Linked DNA regions of Homo sapiens: all the other regions are linked to region 3. The links are contacts of gene promoters, found by promoter capture Hi-C in human tissues and cell types (Jung and others, 2019). All regions are on one chromosome and are shown on one strand. Each heading gives the region's core, a stretch centred on a gene start or on the middle of the fragment in contact. The rest is flanking DNA. Distances are from core to core; before and after follow the strand shown.

Evidence for each region. The method cuts DNA at HindIII sites, captures the fragments that hold promoters and counts their contacts. A contact is called where the count stands out against the background at its distance.
Region 1: a fragment that was not itself captured here is called in contact with the fragment with the promoter of CD38 in region 3 in 1 of the 25 tissues and cell types used here (lymphoblastoid cells).
Region 2: a fragment that was not itself captured here is called in contact with the fragment with the promoter of CD38 in region 3 in 1 of the 25 tissues and cell types used here (H1 embryonic stem cells).

The regions. Positions count from the first base shown.
Region 1 is chr4:14,176,457-14,181,079 of GRCh38, reverse strand. All of the region lies in intron 1 of LOC124900670 (a long non-coding RNA gene), which reads right to left. Among named protein-coding and RNA genes, the nearest start is that of LINC01085, 67 kb to the right of the region's middle. RefSeq lists an enhancer at 2,281-2,575. The HindIII fragment of the contact is 3,286 bases long and covers 1-2,937 here.
Region 2 is chr4:17,049,986-17,054,030 of GRCh38, reverse strand. No RefSeq gene overlaps it. Among named protein-coding and RNA genes, the nearest start is that of LINC02493, 130 kb to the left of the region's middle. The HindIII fragment of the contact is 6,550 bases long and covers 1-4,045 here.
Region 3 is chr4:15,775,733-15,780,042 of GRCh38, reverse strand. CD38 (CD38 molecule) reads right to left here and starts at 1,715. Exons shown (of 8, transcript NM_001775.4): 1 at 1,396-1,715. The coding sequence starts at 1,628. RefSeq lists silencers at 957-1,006, 1,197-1,246 and enhancers at 1,377-1,876, 1,288-1,930. The HindIII fragment of the contact is 9,174 bases long and covers 1-4,310 here.

The DNA of each region.
Region 1 (4,623 bases), core at 45-2,544, 1.6 Mb after region 3:
AAATTGCCTTCATTGGAAAGGCAGGGCTAAAACTCCCTTTGGCCTTCAGTTTTATTCAATCTAGTTCAGCAAACCTTTATTGAATACTCTATATGCAGGCACCAACAGTTCCATAGAGGACAGAAAATTGGATTCAAAGTTAGGAGGCCTGATATCAAAAGAATTGGATTCAAACTCTATCTTTACTCTTGACCAATTGTGAACATCAGGAAAGTCACTCTGAGGCTCAGTTGAGCTGTGATAATAACATCATTACTATTACCAGAATCCCTCAACACCCTCACTGCCTCCCTAATAGACATAGCTTTTAGTAAACACTCTCTGAATTTGCCAATGATAAGAGAGTGAGTGTCTTGTGGAATATGAAAAAAATTGACATCTTCATGCATGGATGGATCATGAGAGTGGATGTTGAAATGATTCTACCTCAATTCAAAGGAGAAAGTTGTTTGTTTTATTTCATGAAAATGTATAAGTGTCATTGACCATTGGAATATCTTTCATAATCCAATTTTATTTTAGCCCACTTCAGTCCTAGTACTCTAACAACCCACTTGCTTGCTGCTAGCACATAAAACTGGAAGATCATGCCAAGAAATGTGACCTGAACCTCAAATTCAGAGGCTTATGCTCCCACGGAACCAATCTGGTGATGTTGCCTTTTTGTTTGAGCTTCCTTCTGCCTTAGGCCAACTGGATCATCCTGGCACCAGGGATGCTATGTTGAGCCATAAATACCTGACCCATTTTCTAGCAGCAACAGGCAAGGGGAGAACCAAGATGACATAGATGACACATGGGGAATGGTTCCAGTTTTGTCCTGCTAAACCACAACTACAAAGGTAATTTTAAAATGTTCTATGAGAAAAGGGCATGCGGGATTCCCTGTGTTGAGCTTCATCCCAGTGAATTACACTGTCTGAACAGATAATAAATATTTTCAGATAAACAAAAGGAGTGGGAATAGCAAGCAGAATACTAGGAAAGCTTTAAGACAACTGCTGATTGACCTGTACCTTCAACCTGGCTACTCAATATTGTTCCCAATGTGTGGATTCCCCTTGTATCACCCTACCTAATAAAATTCTCTCCTGTTTCCTCCACAGGGAGGTGATGAACAACTTAGCAAATGTTTGTGAAAGGGCAAGGTAGATTGTCAAATCCTGAAAATGCCAGCTATCAGTGGCATTCTTAGCAACTGGGATAGATGCTATAAGGGGTAGAAGATAAAAATCTCATGACCCCCAGCTCTGTATGAGTGAGAGCCAGTGAAAACTGGCAATAGGATCTCCAACAAGAAAAATCACTGAGCATTGTGCAAGAGGATTAATAACAGAAAAAAATGCAAATGTTTAGGAAAATGCCTGTGCTATTAAGAGAGTCAAAACCCAATGGGGTAATTATGGAGAAGAGGATACAAATGTCTTAGAAATCGTCAAGGAAAATCATTTTTTTGCCCTCTGCAGGGACTTACCAATGCATTCTCTGTAAATCATCATTAAACCTGCATGGGCCTAATGAGGTAACTCCACATCATCCAGTTGTTAAACAAACAAAAAGGTCTGCTCCCACTTTCCAAAGAGCTCTCCAGCCCACACACCTTTACTTGAGTTCAAATTTAGGAATTAAATACTCTCACTTCTTGTACCAGACTGTATTCAAATCTTTGATTTATGGAGTTGGGAACCAAGAGGTAAAAAGAGAGGGTATATTAATAGTTTATTTTTCTCATTGGCATCTATTCAGTAATGCTGTTTTTCATAAAGAGAATATAAACTGGAAACACATTTCACTGTTCTAAACACTTGGGGGATAAAACAACATAGTAGAAAAAAATAGTAAAAATGCTAGAATGAAAAAGACGAAATTGTGTAGGTGTGTCTCATGTTATAGGTTTTTGCCTCTTCATTATTCACTGTTAATTTTTAAATATATTTTGATAGCATAGGAATAAACTAACTCCTATTAGTTTATTTTTTTGTTCTAAAAATCTTTGATAGACTGTATGTGACCCAGGAGTTTCAAGTTGGCTTTCTGCTGCTGGAGTGTACCATTCCTGTATATTCTAAGGGGCACTATATATGGAAAGACACAAAAATGGAAAGTACCACCTTGAGACAATGGGTACTTGAAATGTATTATTTTAAAAATACTCCCCAAAAGTTTTCAGAAGTGGACAATCAGACTATATGATGAGTGTGGCCACTTGGATTCTTAAATTAATAACACTGGTGTATGAAATTTTACTCCTGAAATCCTAGTAATGCACAAAAAACAAAAGACAAAGGAACATGAAGGTTTTATCCAAGACCATTTTTCTTATGTTAGGAAGCTTTTACAAGGCCTCAGTCTCATGATGTAAATTCAGCAGAATGAAAGACTTTTAGATACAGTGAATTCAGCCAGGACTCCTGTCCTTGCCCCTCCCTTGCTTCTTTCTCAAGGAATAGAAACCATTTCCTCTTGGGCCTTTGTCAGGAAATGCAGATGACTAACCAAGCAGGAAGTGCCTCTACCTTTGACATTTTACTTCTGACACCCCGGTTACAGAGATAACAACAGCTGCTACTCTGTCAAAATGCATAAAAGCTAAGTCTTCTCCAAATCACCAAATAGCAAAAATTACAATTTTAATTCTACTTGCATGACCCATTTATTTAGGCCACTTTTTCCCTACTAGTTTATTTTTTGTTGTTCTAAAAATTTTTGGTGGACCTCATTTGTCACAGAAGTTTCAAGCTGGCTTTCTGCTGCTAGAAAGCAGTGTACGTCGAAAGGGGTGGTATGGATGGCAAGTCACAAAGATAGAAACTACCACCTTGAGACCAGTGGGTACCTGAAATGGCATTAATTTGAATGTTTCAGTTCTGCCTAAATGCTTAGTCAAAGCCTGCATACTGGAAAGACGGCATTCAGAAAAAAATGACAAAGGAGACCAAGACTACACTGGTGTGCTGAAACCAGCTCACACTGGGTCACACAGGCAAGCAAGACCAATTGAATGCAGCTCTTCCCAATTCCTTGTTCAGTGACTTCTTGATGTTAGCTAGAAATGAGCCATGTGAAAGTATTCACACCATGGAGATCAGTAAACATCACAAATTAGAGGGTTTTGTTTTGTCCCAGAAAGTCAGTTGTTAAATTTTTACTAGCACAGGACTTCCCTGGCTAAAGGCCTGAGGAAAGTCCATGTTTAAAGAACCATCTGGCTCTCCAAAGCCTTAGAAAGGCCTCTTCTTTCTTGTGATTTCTCAAAGAAGTGCCAGCAAGAAAGGAAGATCCATCCTGTGACTGTTTTTCTTTCCATGCTCTAAAACAACCAAAACTAGAGTTCTGGCCAATTACCTCCTCTCTTTGCTTTGTGTGGTGTATAAACTTCAAAGTGGTTAAATTCCTTTAGCCATACAACTTTTTACACCTTTAATTGTGCTACAATCTGGCCTGTCAAGTTCTGGAATCATTCTGTGAAGACAGTATTTAAATTTTCCTTTTCTTCTGCTTTACCTATCAGGCCCTAACTTTCATTCCTTTCTAAGCAAAGCTTCCCCAAATTGGTTTTCTCTCCTGCTCCACTGACTCACCTTCCATCCCTCCTTACTCCCAGAGGTCAGCCTGCCTCAGTTTGAGCCTCTGATGCTAGTCAATAATTGTTGCTTCTCCCTGGGGCCATGGCTGGCCCATATCCTCTTCTTTCTCTCTTTTGGGAGTTATGTCCCTAAAATTCTTCCCTTACCAGCACAGCTATTCTAAGCTGTGAGTCTCAGCCTACATTTCTGAATGATCTTCTCTCCCTTCTTGATTGGGTTGTTTTTCTACCCCAAGTCCCTAAATGCAAGGCTTTTCAAGGAGTCTGAGATGAGGATCAGCCATTGAATCCACATGGAAATCTCTTTTATAAAAATCAATGTTTGTATTTGTAAATATGATATTCTGTATTCTTTACAGATCCTTTTAAAGTAAGAAATGTTATGTGGAACAACAATTTCCACTGATGACCTCTCCAGTGTCCTCGGTTTCCCAACGTATCATATAGCAGCGGTTCTCAAACAGGGATAATTTGCCCCTGAAGGGACATTTGACAAAGTTGGCTATTTTTTTTTTTAATTTCACAACACGGAGGATGTGCTACTAGCTTCTAGTAGTTAGGCCTGATGGATACTGCTAAACATCATACGATGTACAGAACAGCCCCACAAAATAATGACTTCTCTGGCATAAAATACCAGTGTGCTGAGGTTGAGAAACCCTGACTTAGGATGACTCTCATTGCAGTTTCCCATAGCAGTTCACTGACTAATGGGAATAAGAGTTGGGTGGTAGCTAAAGGGTACTTAAAGAAACACTTGTTCTTGAGATACATAAGCACAATTGCATTTTGTTGATTTCTTTAGTCACACTTGTTTAACCACTCAATACTTCAAAGGCATAAGGTTTGTTGTACTCGTGTAATTATCTCAACCTTGGGAAAGGAGGGTACCCCATTAGATTTCCGAAAAGTCTTGGTTCTGACCCTCAGTCTTCACTGAGTTCACAGCAGATGAGCAACTCAATCCGTGGATGTGTTTATAATATGCAATAAATAAGCCATAGTATTAGAACTATGTGTATGCATGCAGAGGCAGG
Region 2 (4,045 bases), core at 563-3,062, 1.3 Mb before region 3:
TTGAATGCTTGCCCTGTAGCAGGAACTGTCTTCATCACTTTATGAATCTGTAGTGGTCAAGACCATAGACTCTGGAGCTAGAAAACTTGAGTCTCAATCTTTGCTTTGACTTACTAACCACAAGCAAGTTATTCAAGCTCCCTGTAATTGTGTTTTCTCATGTCAAAAATGGAGATAATAATAAGTACTATTTACTTCATAATGTTGTTTTACTGATTAAATTTAAAAGCCCTTAAAAGAATGTCTGGTGCTTCATAAATGTCAGTTATTATCATTTGAAATTTAATCTTCATAACAATCCTATAAAGTGAATATGATTGGTATCTCCATTTTATGGAACAAATTGTCTGGGTCTAGATCATGCCTCTGCTACTGATTGGCTATGTGATCTTACGCCTCAGTTTCTCAAGCATGAAATGGGATAGTAATCAAACATACAGTGTAGTCATAATAATTAAATTTAAAATGCACCAAAGTGCCTAGAACAAGGTAATTGTCAATGAACGTTATTCGTCATCATCATCATCGTCATCATCATCATCATTGTAATCATCTTTATCATTGCCATGTGCAAAGGCCAAGGATAATGGAGAGTAGCATAAAATTTGAAGATGTGAAGATCTCTACTTGAACCTGTACAGCTAATGGATACTACTCTCTACACCCACACATCCAACTATTTATATCTCACCAGCACCTCATTTACAATATTGTCATAAGCAGACTCCTGATTTCTCCCTTCTTCCCTGTTTCTTCCTCAGGGAGCTCTATGCCAGGGAATGATACCACCTTAAGGAGTGCCATATCCCCACGCATATGTGCCAAGTACCCCAGCGTCTCTCACCCTAGAGGCCTGCTCCATCCCCACACCTGCTTGGGTTGATTTCCTCTTTCTTGAATGCCCTCACTCCTCTCTGCCTTCACTGCCTCCTCACTGGTCCAAGCTACCATTACCTCTCATGGGACAGTTGCAGTAGATTTTGAAAGTGCCTCTGCTCACCTATTTATTTCCTTCTCCAATGTTTTCTCCACACTTTAGCCAAAGAGATTTATGTAAAATGCAAATTTCATCATTTCACACCCTTCTTTTCTGCTCACTCCACCCTAACCACATCCTTAAAACCTATACACACACTTGAAGCCATCCCAGTGTTGGGATGAGAAAGGCCACATTCCTGAGCATGGCCCATCTCAAGGAAGATTCTGTGGTGCAGGCTTCCATCTCCCTCTCCTGTCTTACCCTGAGGCTCACTGGCCTTCCCTTCCACCAGTGTCATCCTGTCTCTCACCCCTGGGCCTTTGCACATGCTGCTTCCTGTCAAGTACAGCCCTGATCCCACCAACCTTCCTTAGTTAACTCTTACTCAACTTTCAGGTCTTAGGAAAGCAGACGTGAATTTTCTTCAGCTACAACACTTGGAAATAAGAAATGGCACAATATTTATTTAAGAAAATTGGACTTTAAGTCCTGGTTCACCAGGAGGCAAAAAATTTCATTTCTATTGTTTTTTCTTTGTACATGTGTGTGAACAGGGGTTAGGGAGTGTCCAGGGTCTCTGGTCTTTAGAACACCAAGGTCCTTGCTGCAATGTGAACTGTCCTAACTCAGAAGGTTCACTGCTCTGTGCTGTGCTTTGCAAGGGAGTCAGTGCTGAAGGTGGGAGCCTTCATGTCTCTGCCAGCCCCTGGGCCCACTGGCTTGCTGTTTACCCATGAATATTAGGTTGTCATACCTCCCTATGGGACTGCAAAGAAGGAGTGCAGCTATCTTTTACTGCCAACAACCACGCAAACTCCATCTTTTCCTAATACTGTGCTTCCCTCTCCCAGTGAGCTGTTTCTGTTTCTACTTCTCCAAGCCCTTCCTTTGGGCTCCAGCTCCTCCAGAGTGACTCATTTGGAAATACAGGGAATACCTGGATATAATATTATAGAAGAGGAAGGAGATGCTGACACCAGTTTTTCTTAATAACTCACCCAGTTACATCACTTAAAAAGAAAAAACGATTCTTAACCATTTTTATGCCAAAGATGCCTTTGGCAATTTGACAAAGCCCATGGATCCCCTTCCCAGGATAATGTTTAAATCCATAAAAGATGCAGGATTGCAATTCAATTAAAGTAAGTTCTCAAACATGCTTAAAATGTGTAGTGTCTCATATATGGGCCTCTTGAAGTCATTAAATATCAGGATCTCATGGTAGGTTTAATAATTAACACAGGCATATTTTGTTTTACTAAGCTTTATTTTATTGCGTTTTTTACAAATTGAAGATTTGTAGTAACCCTGTGCCGAGCAAGTCCATTGCGCCATTTTTCCAATAGAATGTGCTCATTTTGCCAGGTGTGGTGGCTAACACCTGTAATCCCAGCACTTTGGGCGGTGGAGGTGGGTGGATTGCCTGAGGTCAGGAGTTCAAGACCAGCCTGGCTAACATGGTGAAATGCCGTCTCTACTAAAATACAAAAATTAGATGGTCATGGTGGCATGCACCTGTAATCCCAGCTACTCAGTAGGCTGAGGCAGGAGAATTGCTTGAGCCTGGGAGGCAGAAGTTGCAGTGAGCTGAGATCGCACCACTGTACTCCAGCCCATGCGACAGAGTGAGACTCTGTCAAAAAAAAAAAAAAAAAAAAAAAAAAAAAAAAAAAAAGAAATAATGTGCTCATTTTATGTCTTTGTGTCACATTTTGATAATTATTACAGTATTTCAAAATTTTTCATTTGTGATCAGTGATCTTTGATGTCATTATTATAATTGTTTTGGGGCACCACAAATCTCACTCATATAAGATGGTGAACTTAATTGATAAATGTCGTGTGTGTTCTGACTGTTCTACTCACTGACTCTTCCCCCACCTCCCTCCCCCTCCTCTTCTCTCTCCCCTCATGGGTCCCTATTCCCTGAGATATATATATATATATATATATACACACACACATATATATATGTAACATATGTATGTAACATAGATATAAATATAAATATATATATAAATCTATATATCTATATATTGAAATTAGGGCAATTAATAACCGTACAATGGCCTCTAAGTATTCAAGTGAAAGGAAGAGTCACACATCTCACACTTAAGTAAAAAACTAGAAATAATTAAGCTTAGTGAGAAAGGTCATGTTGAAAGTCCAGGCAGGCTGAAAACAAAACCTCTTGTGCCAAACTGTTAGGCCAAGTTGTCAATGCAAAGGAAAAGTTTATGAAGGAAATTAAAAGTGCTACTCCAGTGAACCCACAAATGATTAAAAAAAAAAAGCAAAACAGCCTTATTGCTGATATGGAGAAAGCTTGAATGATCCAGATGAAAGATCAAACCGGCTGTTAACATTCCCTTAAGCCAAACCCTAGTCCAAAGCAAGACCCTAACTCTCTTTAGATCTATGAAGGCTGAGAGAAGTGAGAAAGCTGCAGAAGAAAAGTCTGAAGCTAGCAGAGGTGGGTTCATGAGGTTTAAGAAAAGAAACCACTTCTATCTACTTTTAGTTTATGAAAGAAGGTGAAGCAGTACAAGGTGACACACAGCAAATGCTGATGAAGAAGCTACACTGTTACCCAGAAGATCTAGCCAAGACAACTGATGAGGGTGTCTACACTAAACAACAGATTTGCCACATAGACAAAATAACCTTGTATTAGAAGAAGATGCCAAAGATGCCTCTAGGACTTTCATAGCTAGAGAGGAGAAGTCAATGCCTGGCTTCAGAGCTTCAAAGGACAGGTTGACTCTCTTGTCAGGGGCTAATGCACCTGGTGACTTTAGGTTGAAGCCAAGGCTCATCTACCACTCTTAAAATCCTAGGGTCCTTAAATCATGCTAAATCTACCCTGAGCTCTATAAGTGGAAGAACAAATCCTGGATGACAGCGCATCTGCTTATAGCATAGTTAACTGAATATTTTAAGCCCACAGTTAAGATCTATTGTTCAGGGAAAAAAAGGCTCCTTTCAAAATATTGCTGCTCACTGACAATATACCTACTCACCCAAGAGCTCTGATAGAGATGTGCAAGGAGATTAATGTTTTCATGC
Region 3 (4,310 bases), core at 466-2,965:
CTTCGTCATTCACTCTTGTGTCATCAGTAGCTAGATCACTGTCTGGAACATAGTGGGTGCTCAACAGATACTTGTTGGATGAATGAATGGGATTGAAAAATTGGAAACAAGCTAATTTCCTGTCAATAGGAAATGGTTACATCTAGTTTATGAAATACTATGGGCTGTCAAAAGAAATGAGATAGATCTTTATGTACTCACATTGAAAGATCTTCAAGACCAGTGTTACTTTTTTTTTTTTTAATGAGGTTGCTTTCTAACATTACCATTTCATTTTGGATTTCACTTCATACTTTACAATACAGCCTGGAGGAACGCCTCAACTTCTAGTTTCTCTCTCCATTAAGTATCTAATTATGTGTAAATAGAACAACTAACGGGACGCTGGGAAGCCCAGGAGGCAAACATTTTGCAACCGGAACTGTTGAGTGTGCTCGGAGAGGCGAGGGAGGTCTATTTGCTCGTTTCCTCGGATTGCTTAAATGCGGGATTTTGCTATCCCAAAGCACAGAGTGTAAAGTAGCAGCTCCCCCTGCCTGCCTTCCCGGCTTCTTCTGTTTTACAAGCAACGATAATTTCCCGGTGAAAGCGAGGCCTGGGAATCAAATCCAAAAAGTGGTTGTTCCCTTTAGGAGAGGTTAGTAGCTGGAAAGGAGCATGAGAAAACTGGAAGGTCCCATAGACTAATGTGTTTTTTTTCCAAGGTTTGTACAGATTCACCGAGTTGCTGCGCCTTATCATCTAAGTAATGTCTCGGTTTTAGAAGTTGACATTGTTTTGTTAATTACTTCTCTGGTCACATGCATTTCAGGCCGCGCAAAAAGAATCGGAGTGCTGCTTTATATAAATGAATAAAACTAAGTTCCGTGGTTTGGCCCTTCTACACCCTCCTCCCCTACCACAGGCTTTGCAAACCACTTAAGTGTCCTCTGTAACCGTCCGGGGGCACTTTCGGGTCAGAGACAGCGGGCGGAAACCGCAGAAAAAGTTGAAAATGTCAGCGACACCCTGCATCTGCGAGTTCTATTCCGTCCCTGAAGCGGTGAAGCGGGCTGAGCGCGCCGAGGGTGGGCTGCAGCCCGGCGAGGGGCTGGGCTCAGGGCACCTTGCCCAGAAGGCGGGCATCGGTGCCAAGTGTTCACCGGCTACGCAGCAGAGCCACCGAGCAGCGCCCCCCCCCGCCTCCCGCGGGCACGCTCGGTGCCAAGGCCAGCTGCTCCTGAAAGCGGCCCGCGGAGCCCCGAGCCCGGGACTCCCTACTCAGCACCACCCGGCGGGCTCTCGGCTGACCCGCCACGGAAGATGCCCGGTTCCGGGCGATCCGGGCGGCTTCCCTGCGCGCGGGGCCCTGCTGTCCCCGCAGTGCCCACCGGTGCGCCTTAGTCGCCAACCCACCTCATCTCAGGATGAATTTCAGTGTACTTGACGCATCGCGCCAGGACGGTCTCGGGAAAGCGCTTGGTGGTGCCCGGACCGCTCCACTGCTGGCGCCACCTCGGGACGACCACCGCGAGCACCACGACGAGGATCAGGACCAGGATACTGACGCCAAGACAGAGTTGGGCTCTCCTAGAGAGCCGGCAGCAGGGTTTGTCCCCGGACACCGGGCTGAACTCGCAGTTGGCCATAGGGCTCCAGGCGGGGTTGGCTGGGCGAAGATGAGGCCGGCAGGAGGCTAGGCAGCAAGAGAGAGGCTGGCTGGGTTCTGAAACTGCACCTCCCCTTCTGTTTCACTTGCCTTTTCTCTGTTTCCCTTCCCACCCCCAACCCCTTGCCTCAGAGTTCCGTGGCTGGTTACACCAATAAGAGTTTAAAAGACCAACAACTATAGGCTCCTGTGCAGTGACCCACCCACTCCACCTCCAGGGAGAAACAGCCACCTTAATCCTCTGCAGGTGTCCTAAGGGGGCAGACAGTACATCCTTATACTCCCTCCGCTAACTCCCTTCATCAACCGGGCACTTTACACCTGAGCCACATTTGCTTCCTGGAAAGCATGAGGGTGGGCTGCCTGCTTCTATACGTGTGTGCACACAATGCCCTCTGCCTGGAAAAGGATGTCCTACCTCTCTTTCTTAACTCTGACAAATGCCTGGTCAACCACCTTTAAAGACTCAACTTAAGTCTGACTCCTTCTCTCAAGAGGCATCAGTGGCTAAGCTCTGGGTTCAAATTTAGTTCTTGCTGGATGACATGGGGCAAGTTACTTAACCTCTCTGTACTTCAGATGTAAAGCCGGGATAGTAGCAGTACCTACTTCATGGGATTGTTACGAGGATTAAGTGAGTTAATATCTACAACGTGTTTAGCACAATACCTGGCACATGGTAATCACCCAGTAAATGTAAGTTGTTACTACCAGCTCTAGGAGCTGCTCAGAGATGCAATTTTATAGTCCATGGAATGTGTTTGAAGCAGGGTCTGGCACACAGTAATAATACTGCACTCTATGCGGGAGTTTAATAAATAATAAAGTGGCTTTTCTTGCCTCTTCTTTATTAAGAGAACATCTGTGACATTCAAGCAGAGACCTAAGTAATGTGAGCGATCAAGTCACCCAACTCCCTTGGGGCAAACATTTCCCAAGCAGAGGAAATGGCAGGTGCAAAGACTCTGAGGCAGAAAAGCTCTTGGCCTGTTCCAGAGCAGCAAGGAGGCCAATTGTAGTTAGGCTAGAGGGTTGAGGGAAACAGAACAGAAGTTCGGAAAGTAGCAGGAGACCAGATCACCCATAGCTCTGTAAGACAGGATGACTTTTTGGACTGTGTGTTTTATTTATTTTTTATCTTTTTTATTTTGTTTTAAGTTCTGGGATACATGTACAGGACGTGCAGAGTTGTTACATAGGTAAATGTGTGCCATGGTGGTTTGCTGCACCTATCAATCCATTGCTTAGGTATTAAGCCCCTCATGTTTTAGCTATTCTTTCTGATGCTCTCCCTCCCTCCACTCTCCCCAACAGGCCCCAGTGTGTGTTGTTCCCCTCCCTGTGTTCATTGTTCAGCTCCCACTTATAAGTGAGAACATGCAGTGCTTGGTTTTCTGTTCCTGTGTTAGTTTGCTGAGGATAATGGCTTCCAGCTCCATCCATGTCCCTGCAAAGGACATGATCTCGTTCCTTTTTGTGGCTGCACAGTATTCCCTGGTGTATATGTACCACATTGTCTTTATCCAGTCTGTCATTGATGGGCATTTGGGTTGATTCCATGTCATTGCTATTGTGAATAGTGCTACAATGAACATATGCATGCATGTATCTTTATAACAGAATGATTTATATTCCTTTGGGTATATACCCAGTAATGAGATTGCTGGGTCAAATGGTATTTCTGGTTCTAGATCTTTGAGGAATCCCCATACTGTCTTCCACAATGGTTGAACTAATTTACACTCCCATCAACAGTGTAAGTGTTCCTATTTCTCCACAACCTCACCAGCATCTGTTGTTTATTGACTTTTTAATGATCACCATTCTGACTGGCATGAGATGATATTTCATTGTGGTTTTGGTTTGCATTTTTCTAATGATCAATGATGTTGAGCTTTTTTTCATATGTTTGTTGGCTATATAAATGTCTTCTTTTGAGAAATATCTGTTCATGTCCTTTGCCCACTTTTTAATGGGGTTGTTTATTTCTTATAAATTAGTTTAAGTTCCTTGTAGATTCTGGATATTAGACCTTTGTCAGATGGATAGATTTTGAAAATGTTCTCCCATGCTGTAGGTTGTCTGTTCACCCTGATTATAGTTTCTTTCGGTGTGCAGAAGTTCCTGAGTTTAATTGGATCCCATTTGTCATTTTCGCTTTTGTTGGAATTGCTTTTGACATTTTCATTATGAAATCTTTGCCCATGCCTATGTCCTGAATGGTATTGCCTAGATTTTCTTCTAGGGTTTTTATAGTTTTGGGTTTTACATTTTAAATCTTTAATCCATCTTGAGTTAATTTTTGAAAAAGGTGTAAGGAAGGGATCCAGTTTCAATTTTCTGCGTATAGCTAGCCAGTTTTCCCAGCACCATTTATTAAATAGGGAATCCTTTCCCCATTGCTTGTTTTTGTCAGGTCTGTCAAAGATCAGATGGTTGTAGATGTGAGTCTTATTTCTGAGATCTCTATTCTGTTTCATTGGTCTATGTGCCTGTTTTTGGATTTTATTTTTAACCCATTCGTGTGCATTTTATTTTTACCCATACAAGTCACCAAATGACTTGATCTGGCATATTATTTTAAAGGATCAATCTGGCTTTGGTATTAAGAATAAATTGTAGGAGGATAAGGATGGAGAACAGTTACAATGGCTGTAGTAGC